2 separate regions of the Homo sapiens genome follow, and region 2 is linked to region 1. Evidence: promoter capture Hi-C in human tissues and cell types (Jung and others, 2019). All regions are on one chromosome and are shown on one strand. The core of a region is centred on a gene start or on the middle of the fragment in contact, and the rest is flanking DNA. Distances in the headings are between cores, read along the strand shown.

Evidence for each region. The method cuts DNA at HindIII sites, captures the fragments that hold promoters and counts their contacts. A contact is called where the count stands out against the background at its distance.
Region 2: a fragment that was not itself captured here is called in contact with the fragment with the promoter of ST6GALNAC3 in region 1 in 1 of the 25 tissues and cell types used here (heart right ventricle).

The regions. Positions count from the first base shown.
Region 1 is chr1:76,072,278-76,076,548 of GRCh38, reverse strand. It overlaps ST6GALNAC3 (ST6 N-acetylgalactosaminide alpha-2,6-sialyltransferase 3), which reads right to left and starts at 1,803. Exons shown (of 5, transcript NM_152996.4): 1 at 1,665-1,803. The coding sequence starts at 1,682. RefSeq lists a silencer at 1,803-2,002. The HindIII fragment of the contact is 7,284 bases long and covers 1-3,318 here.
Region 2 is chr1:76,277,468-76,282,220 of GRCh38, reverse strand. The region is part of intron 1 of ST6GALNAC3 (ST6 N-acetylgalactosaminide alpha-2,6-sialyltransferase 3); the gene reads right to left. Among named protein-coding and RNA genes, the nearest start is that of ST6GALNAC3, 210 kb to the right of the region's middle. RefSeq lists an enhancer at 2,198-2,697. The HindIII fragment of the contact is 4,115 bases long and covers 528-4,642 here.

The DNA.
Region 1 (4,271 bases), core at 554-3,053:
TTTGATCTTATATTGAAGAAACTAAGGCCCAGAGACATTTAAGTAACTTGTCCAACATCACAGAGGTAGCAGTGGGCAGAGCCAGCATCCAGACATATCTTTCTGAGTCTAAAGCCCACATTAGTTTCAGTGGAGGGAAGATAAGGTGGACAGATATGTCCCAAATGTCTGAAAGCAGTGTGAAGTGCTAGAAGAGAAAGATTGGACCAGATTCATGTGTAGTTTGGGATGTGCATTAAAGATGTTTACCACATGTATAGGACAAGGCAGGGGAGAAACCAAAACAGAAAAAGATGGCCAGCAATAAATATCATGCTCCTCAATGTCCCTTTCAGCAAATAACACAATGAATAGTAAAGATGACTCATATTCATATTTCAGTCCTTGTGCTAAGAGCCTCCCGGTCAAATACCCCATACTGTAATACTGATGTATTATTTCCTCATGTCCTGGAAAATGTTCTGAAACAAAAAGAGGAAGTTCAGAAAGCTCACAGGAAACTTCTGATCTCCTTTACGCAAAGAAGGGGAAACAACTTCTACGAGGTTAGTCTCTTATTTTCATCATTGACACCAGGCACGTTAGAAGACGATTCAGGTAACCAGAACACAGTAGATGACTTAATATCATCTTATAGAGAAATAAATGCTACTTCACAATAACACAACAACAACGAATTGTTTCCTGGTATTTTCCATCGTCACACAGTTCCCCCAGGCTTGGACAACTAGGTCTCTGCATTCTCCAGTCAAGGCCCAGGAAACTTTCATGCTGTTCATGTTTTTGATTCATGCATCCAGGTTATGTTCTTGTAGAAAGGTAGTGCAAAAAAAAAAACGAGGGCAGGGGAGGCCTCTACCAGTGGGATGGAAAGTTCTTTTTAAGTGAGGCCCTCACACCAAGTTCTCCCACCTGAGGCCACAAGTCTGTGAACCCAGAAAGATGCTCAGGTGAGGCTAAGAATCCGGTCTTGGAGAAAGAAAACTCAACAAAGAAGGGATGGCTGAGCGCACTCTGGCAGAGCATAAAATCATTTTGTCTATTCAAATTTATGAGCATAAAGAGAGTGAGAGGTTCTCTACTAACATATACATCCTCGTGTGAACTTTTCCAAAGTAGAGCTAAGGGCAAACAGAGCTAGCAGATCTCATAGAAAACTCATTCCTAAGGGACTACCTGTAAACTCAGAAGTTTCTGTCTTCACATGATCAAATGCACAGTAGAGCCCACCTCCGCTCACTCTTCCCTCCATTTAAAGCGCTATGCCCCTCACCACCAGCAACTCACGCCTAGCCACTCCACCCCTCCCCGTGGCCCCTGAAAGGCCTCAGGCTCCACAGAGCCGCGGGACCCGCGGGAACACCCCTCCTCTCCCTACCATCCCCATTATTCGGCACACAGCCCTGCTCTCCCCTGGAGCCAACAGTCTGCAGCTCCTTCAATGCAGGCGCGAGCAGGAGGCAGGAATGGTGGGAAAAGAAGCTGTGCCAGCTGCATGTTTCAGAATCTCCCTCCATATGCATTTGCCAAAGGAACAAAAAGAAAATCAATGCCAGGAAAAGACAACTGAGATGAGGATGCGGTGGGACCGCGGCTGACTCCGTGCCTCTGAGCAGCAAGGGGCTGGCCAACCACGCGTCCGAGCCACAGATCCAAGTCGTTACCTTCAGGATGCAGGCCATGGCGCTCCGCCGGCCCTCCTGCCACCGAGCAGCGGGCGCGCCTGGGTCAGGGGCAGTCCTGGGGGCAGGCTGGAGGCTGGTACCACGGCAGGACCTCTCCAGCCCACATTCCCGCAGATCCAAATAAGGGGACCGCGGTGTAAGCTGCGCCGCCACAGACCCCGCCCCCCGAGCCGCGGCCCCGCCCCCGTCCCCATCCACTGGCCCGCGGCCCGCGCGGCCCCGCCCCCGGGTCACGTGCCGTCCTGGGCGCCGGCGCCGGCGGCTCCTCAGTGCCTGCTACTTCTTTCTCTTGTTTTCTTCTGTGAACCTTTCGCGGCTCGACGTGCGCAGAGTGCGCTCTGCAGCAGGCGGGGACCTGGGTCCCGCGGGGGGCAGAGTACGGCCTTTTCTTCTCGGTTCCGTCTCCTCTCACACATCAGAGAACTCCTTTTTACAGACGTTTCACACTTTGTCAAAGTTGAGTGGGTTTGGCATCGCCCTTCTGGAGACTTTGGGCACATCAAAGGGCTTTTCAAAAGTAGCAACGAAGTTCTCCCTGGGCTGTTCAAGGATTGAGCCTTCACTCTGTGATGGGCTTATCTAAAATTAATAATTTACCGCTAATAAGTGAGCACAAATATCAACGAAAGAAAGACGTCATGAACCTTACACTCTGTATGGTATATTTTGTGTGTGTGTACATATTTTACATATACATGTATGTGTGTATAATATATAAATTATTGCCTTTTCCTGGTACAAGCTTGTTTATGAAATTGTATATGCATGATATACAGTATACAGATACAGGATGCACACATGTGTATATTGTATTATATATGTACATGTTGATTGTACAGTATATGTTTATAAACTGTGTATGTGTACATGATAGGACTTTGCTCTTCCCTGCTCCAAGCAAGAGCCGGCTAAGAGAAGCAGTTATTTCTACAAGGAGAGTAAACGCATTGCAGAAGGGAGAGAGCATTCCGTGTACACACACAGATTTTTACCACTTGGTCTGTCAGAAAAATTTTAAAAGCGGCCCCCAAATATCTACCCAAAAGAAGTTTCACTTGCTAGAAGCTCCGTCTAGTTTGCCTCCATGGAATCAGGAAAAGCACTGTGGGCTGGTGGTGTCATGAGATTGGCTCACAAACCACAAGGCAGAATCCAGGCTTTCAAGGAATTTGGTATTTTCTTGATGAGAACATGCAGAATTCTTAGAGAGCAGGAGTAACCACAGGAAGGAGGTTGCAGAAGCTGAGCCTGTGGATGAACTGCCTGTCCCATGGGAAGCTCCTGTCTTCAGTCTCCCTGGAATACCACACCCTGCTCTTCGACTTCTTCCTCCCGCCCCTCCCTCCTCTGCCTTACAGATCCGGTGTGTTTTTAGTAAGAATTCTTTGTTTGGGACTATATACTTTAAACCGCTGCTTTAGCTCATGGTCCTTCATAGGCCAGGAAAATTCAGTATTTCATTCATTTACTCATCCCTTGATTGATTCCACAAACTTTTTTATTGAGCCACTACTAAATGGAAGAATAAACTTTATTCACCTTCCACTAAGTGGAGGAAAAATCTTTATTGAAGACCTTTCAGGGATAGGAGAATGACTTTCAGAATATCTAACATCAAGGTGGGCTCACAGTTAAGTGAGAAAGACAAGAATAAGAGATACATGATACTATAACATGGAAAGGGCCTTAGCCAAATTGGAAGCAAAGATCTCAGGAAGGAGAAAGAGAAACACCTGACCGTCCCCCAGCCCGACACCCGTAAAGGGTCTGTGCTGAGGAATATTAGTAAAAAAGGAAGGCCTCTTGCGGTTAAGAGGAAGGCCTCCGTCTCCTGCATGTCCCTGGCAGAACAGCAGAGCAAAGGGGTGAGGGTGGGCAGAGCACATCGTTCTCTCTAGAAAGTCTGTACATCTGGAAAGAGAAACAGCAGGCCCTAGTGAACAGCCCTGCTAAGTACTTCCCTGCTGGGTGTCCTTGATCAAGTTTCTTAACCTCTCTTTAATCCTTACCTTATCTAATATTATCTATCCTCAAGAGAATTAAATGAGATAATAATGTTTGCAAATTGCATTTACCTCAATTTCTGGCACTATGAGCACTTTTTATATGATAGCTCTTTATGTAAAGAAAAAAATCTTCCGCTAAAGACAGACTTGTGGGAGAAGATGAATAGGATAATTGCCATCAGCCTTGGGTGTCTCAGGAGGATGAACACCAACGGAGCAAACTTTTAACATGTTATGACTTGGGTATGCCGTGATGAGGCCTTTACTAATTCCCTCAATCTACTTGGATATGGCTTTCTCAATTACATTTCTATCCACCCATGTCCATACTTCCCAAGGTGTTATTTTTTTTATTAACATCCAAAAGTTATGTCAAACAGCTAGAAATAAAGGCACATTTATAACAATCTAAAAACAAACTCAAGTTCTAGAATAAATCTGGACTGGAAGATTTACAAAACAGTATTAACAATCACTGTTTTAGATGGACCACTCGATGTCTGGGGGTGGGGGGGAAGCTTTTGGATGGAAATAAAAACAGGTTTTGAACCTACCAGGGAATGGAGATAGCCAGATTTGT
Region 2 (4,753 bases), core at 1,336-3,835, 200 kb before region 1:
AGCTTAATATAACCAGTCTCTCAAGGCAGGACAAAGGGAAGGAAAAGGACTAGACAAGTGAAACCAGAACTCTTCAGCAAGCAGAAGGAGAAAAAAACAAGGAACACATATAATTCTTGTCTCCTCATAAAAGACAACTATAGACTGTTTCTAATCATTTTAGATGACTTGAGGGCATTGATTTAGGAATTTTAAAAGTCTATTTTTCATGCATCCCACCTTCTCCATTTGTCTTTTTCATGACAATCTGAAGTAATTTCCACTTCTCTGGTATCGTCAGTTGAGCTAACATGCATAGAAGTGCCCACTACAGCACCCAGCACCTGGTATGACCTCAATAGATGTTTCCTTCCTCCCTTTCCTTACTGCCAATTCGGTCTAAAAATGTGTTAATAATCTTAAATAATAATGAATCCAGGTCACATGAATTCACTTTGCCTTGAAAATTCCTCAATAGGCAGCATAATCGAGTAGCAAAGTGAACTTTGAGACCTTCCCAAGGACCAAACACTTGAAAATGAGAACAAGATGCTGAATAGGCCCAAGGCACAGCCAGTTTGTAGTCATTATTCTCTGGACCTGGCTCCAGCATTCTGATTAAACAGAAGGGTGCTGTCTGTTGGCCAGGTTTCATTTTCCGACACTCTTCCCAGTGATCTTGGCCCCACTTGAGTCCCCATCTGTGTGCCTTTGAACACTGTGCATGCTCTGTGCAGATGAGGAGTGCAGGCACACTGCTGGAGGAGCTACCCACACACTCCCCAGCAGGCTGCAGGCATCTCTGGCCAGCTTCCCTGCTGAAAAGCACTGGGGCTGCAATCCAACGGCTCTCTCAGGGTGGAACCAAATGAGAGTATATTTTATGACATTCATTCACCTCTTTACTACATTAACACAGAAAATGAACTCATAATTAAGTGTGCATTTGTTTAATGTTATTTTTTCCTCAGGCCTTCTAAGAGAGAAAATTTGCAAACTCAAGAAAAAAATCTATATCGATTTCAAGGTAATATCTCAGGGCAATAATATCTTCAGTTAAAGGAGAAAAAAGCTTGAATTAAGGTGTCGGCACAAAAATATCAGTTAGTGGCTCTGCTACTTACTATCCATGAGGCTTTAAACAAGTTATTAAACCTCCTTTGCTTCAGCTTACCAATCTGCAAAACGAGATAGTAATAGTAAGTACTCAAAAGACTATGATGATATTGAAGAGTTAAATTTATAAAGCTCTTAGAACAGTGCATGGCATAAAGTGAGCATAATATAAATGTTTGACAGATAAATAAATGCATAGTTGGGTGGAGGGAAGTAAGGTGATATTCAGTGAGCATCTACTCTATTTTAGGAGATTTCATGTATTATCTCATTTGCCTTGATGATCAATTTGTAAATGAATATTATTTATTGACCTCATTTTATAGAAAAGAAAAGGTTCAAGTAGAATAAAGTGACTTGCCCAAGTTTGCATGCTAGTAAATGACGAATCTGAGATTTGTAAAGAGGTCTGAATCCAAATCTTTGTAGCATACCATGCACATAACATTATTTAATTCTAAATTCTATGCCCATTATTTCATTTAATTCTTACAAGAATCCTTTCTGATAAGTAAGTAGCACCAGCCCTTGTCTCTACCCATAGTGCATCCAACTCAATCTTCTGTCTCTGGTGGCAGCAATAGGTATGTGTAACAGAAGGTCACAGTGCTCACCCCAGCTGAAATAGGTATGAATTTAGCTTCCCTAGCGGCACATTAGGTATTCATTTACCAAAAATGATAAATGCTGAAAGTACTATGCAAGAAATATAATCCATCTACCCGAACTGGAAAGGACTAGTAGTTAGTTCTAGGAAGAAAAGAGAGACATTGGAGAGTAACAGTCACCAGAATTTCTGTACTCCATTATCAACATATTTTTGAGAATATACCCCAAATATATTCAAACAAAAAGTAAGCAGTAACAACTGATGAACTAAAATAAATAGGATTTCTGAAACTGTCTCCATCTTTCCACTTAGGCAATCACTAATTCAGAACATAGCAAAGGGTGGGTTGGAAAAAAGGGCGACTGGAAGAGAGGACAGAACAGGGAGAATGAAGTGAAGCAGAGAAAGAAGCAAGAGAGAAAAGGCGAAGGAGAAGTGGAGGGAGAAGGAAAGAACAAATAAGAGAACGAAAAATGAGAAAAGGGGCAATGGCAAAAGAGAAAGGGCAAGATGAGAGAAAAGACAGGAGAGAGACAGGAGAGAGAACCAATGGTTAGCAAGCACCCCACTTTCTCCCGAACTCTTTATAATAGGAAAACACAAACACAGAACTCCTCCAGTCGAGTAACCTATATCTGTGCGCTGTTTCTCAAGTTGCATCTATAAAGAGGATCTCTACTAAGTTTTAACTTTCTTCCTAATTCTTCATATTTCTTTTGTGAATTCTGAGGAGACTCCAGCAAGGCTCCTGAGGTCCAGTGTGCCTGGTATAGGAGTCACAGTTGTGCTCTGGCTCTAAAACCTGAGGAGCCCTCCTGACGAAGTGGCTACCATGGACGCCACTTCCGCCTCCGGCAGCTGCCGGCAGACACGACTCCAGGCACTGCAGCTCTGAACCAGCTCAAGTGCTGCACTCACGTGATTATGGCCACTACTGCCTCTGACAAGCCATCAAGAATACTAACCACCCTTTCCCACAAAGGCTCCTCTTTCCCGTTTCTTCTGTAACAACATTCCCCCCACCCGCGAAGCTCTGGAGGCCTGTTGGCTAGCACAGGTTGATTGATAATAACTGTGTCTTCCAGCAAAAGATTCCACCCCTGAGGATCACAGATGGCGAATGACTTGCGGTAATTTTCTTACCAAAGAACACGGGGCTCAGGCATCTAAGCCATATTCAGCAGAGAATCCTTTCCAGTCAGATCCACAGAGGAGGCTTTTCGCAGCCATAAGCTTTCACTTGAGTTGTTATCAAAGTTTTCCATCACTGACTGTTTAAGAAAACATTAAAATGACTCCACACAGACTGCTGCTCTACAATTTCAGTTCCCCTGCCTGGCTGTGTGTGTCCAAATGCAGTCTAGGGGAAGCATGTTGGTGCTGTCTGCTGTCTGTTTCCTCAGGTGTGCAAAATCTCCTCCCTGGGAGCCAAGTGGCCCCCTCAGCCAGCAACAGTGACAAGAAGAGATGGATAAAGTTGTATCAAATGTCTGCTGACCTTAGTGAGGGGAGACAGAGCCACATAATTGTCTACAGAAAGGATTATCCATTCCGGTCATTGTACTCAAATGCTTAGAAAATTGTGAACATTCTTCTTGCCCGAGGGAAAGTACTACGCGATGAACAGAACTATTTTGGTGTGAAATCCACCTGATTTTAAATCCTGGCTTTACCATAAACACATTCGCTCTGTGACTTTGAGTAAATTACTTGGCTTTCCTAAACCTTGGTTTCCCTTGTCATGAAAATAGGACAAATAACACCTAACTTCGAACGTTGTGGTGAGGATTAAATAAGATTATGTAGGTGTGGCAGGCAAATTTACTAAAATTACTTTCAAATTGCAACATTTTCTGTTTATTTTTCTTTTCTTCTCCGTTCAAGCAGATAGACAAACTCTTTCATTCTCTGCATCAGGGATTTGGTTTCCTCAAAAAGTAGAGGTAACCAGATATCAAAGGCTCTTCTTGAATTCTTTAAACACTGAAATCCATTAAAAAAAAGAATGCCTAGCAGCCTATAATCCCAGTACTTTGGGAGGCCGAGATGGGCGGATCACCAGGTCAGGAGATTGAGACCATCCTGTCTAACACGGTGAAACCCCGTCTCTACTAAAAATACAAAAAATTAGCTGGGCATGGTGGCGGGCCCCTGTAGTCCCAGCTACTCGGGAGGCTGAGGCAGGAGAATGGCGTGAACCCGGGAGGCGGAGCTTGCAGTGAGCCGAGATCGCGCCACTGCACTCCAGCCTGGGATGACAGAGCGAGACTCCATCTCAAAAAAAAAAAAAAAGAATGCCTAGCAATAATGAGAATACATGATACTGAAAGATACCATTTATTATAGTGACGAAAGACAGTGAAGATCTAAATAAGTAGATTTGGATAGAAATATAGATAGAAAGACTCAACATTATAATGTTACAAAGATACCAACTCTTCCCCAAAACTATAAATTTAATGAAATTTCATAAAAATATTAAAAATCTCCAAGATTATTATAAAATTTCTGTAGAAATGCAAAAGGCCAAGAATGACCAAGACATTCCTGAAGAATAAGGTCTAGGCGTGAGAATGTGGGAGGAGACTTGTGTAACCAGACTTAAAGCTCATTGTAAATGTATAGAAGCTAGTGGCAATATGGTACTGACTCAAAGACAACAGACCAAAGGCACACCACAGACAGCCCAGAAATAAATCCAGGCATATGGGGAAATTTGGTAGATGACAGAGATACCATTACAGATTATTGGGAAACGTAAATGATGCTGAGACAATTATTAGCCATATTAAAACACAGATGAAATAAGACTCCTCCTTCACGTTAAGTTAAAGACATATATGTGTATATTCGTGTATATACAGCTACATATGTAGAAATGTGTGTGTGTGTGTGTGTGTGTGTATATATATATATATATATATACACATAAACATATGTGTGTGTGTATATATATATATATATATATATATATATATATATATATACACATAAACATATACATATATGTCTTTAATTGACCTGTTATGAAGGAGGGGGTCTTATTCC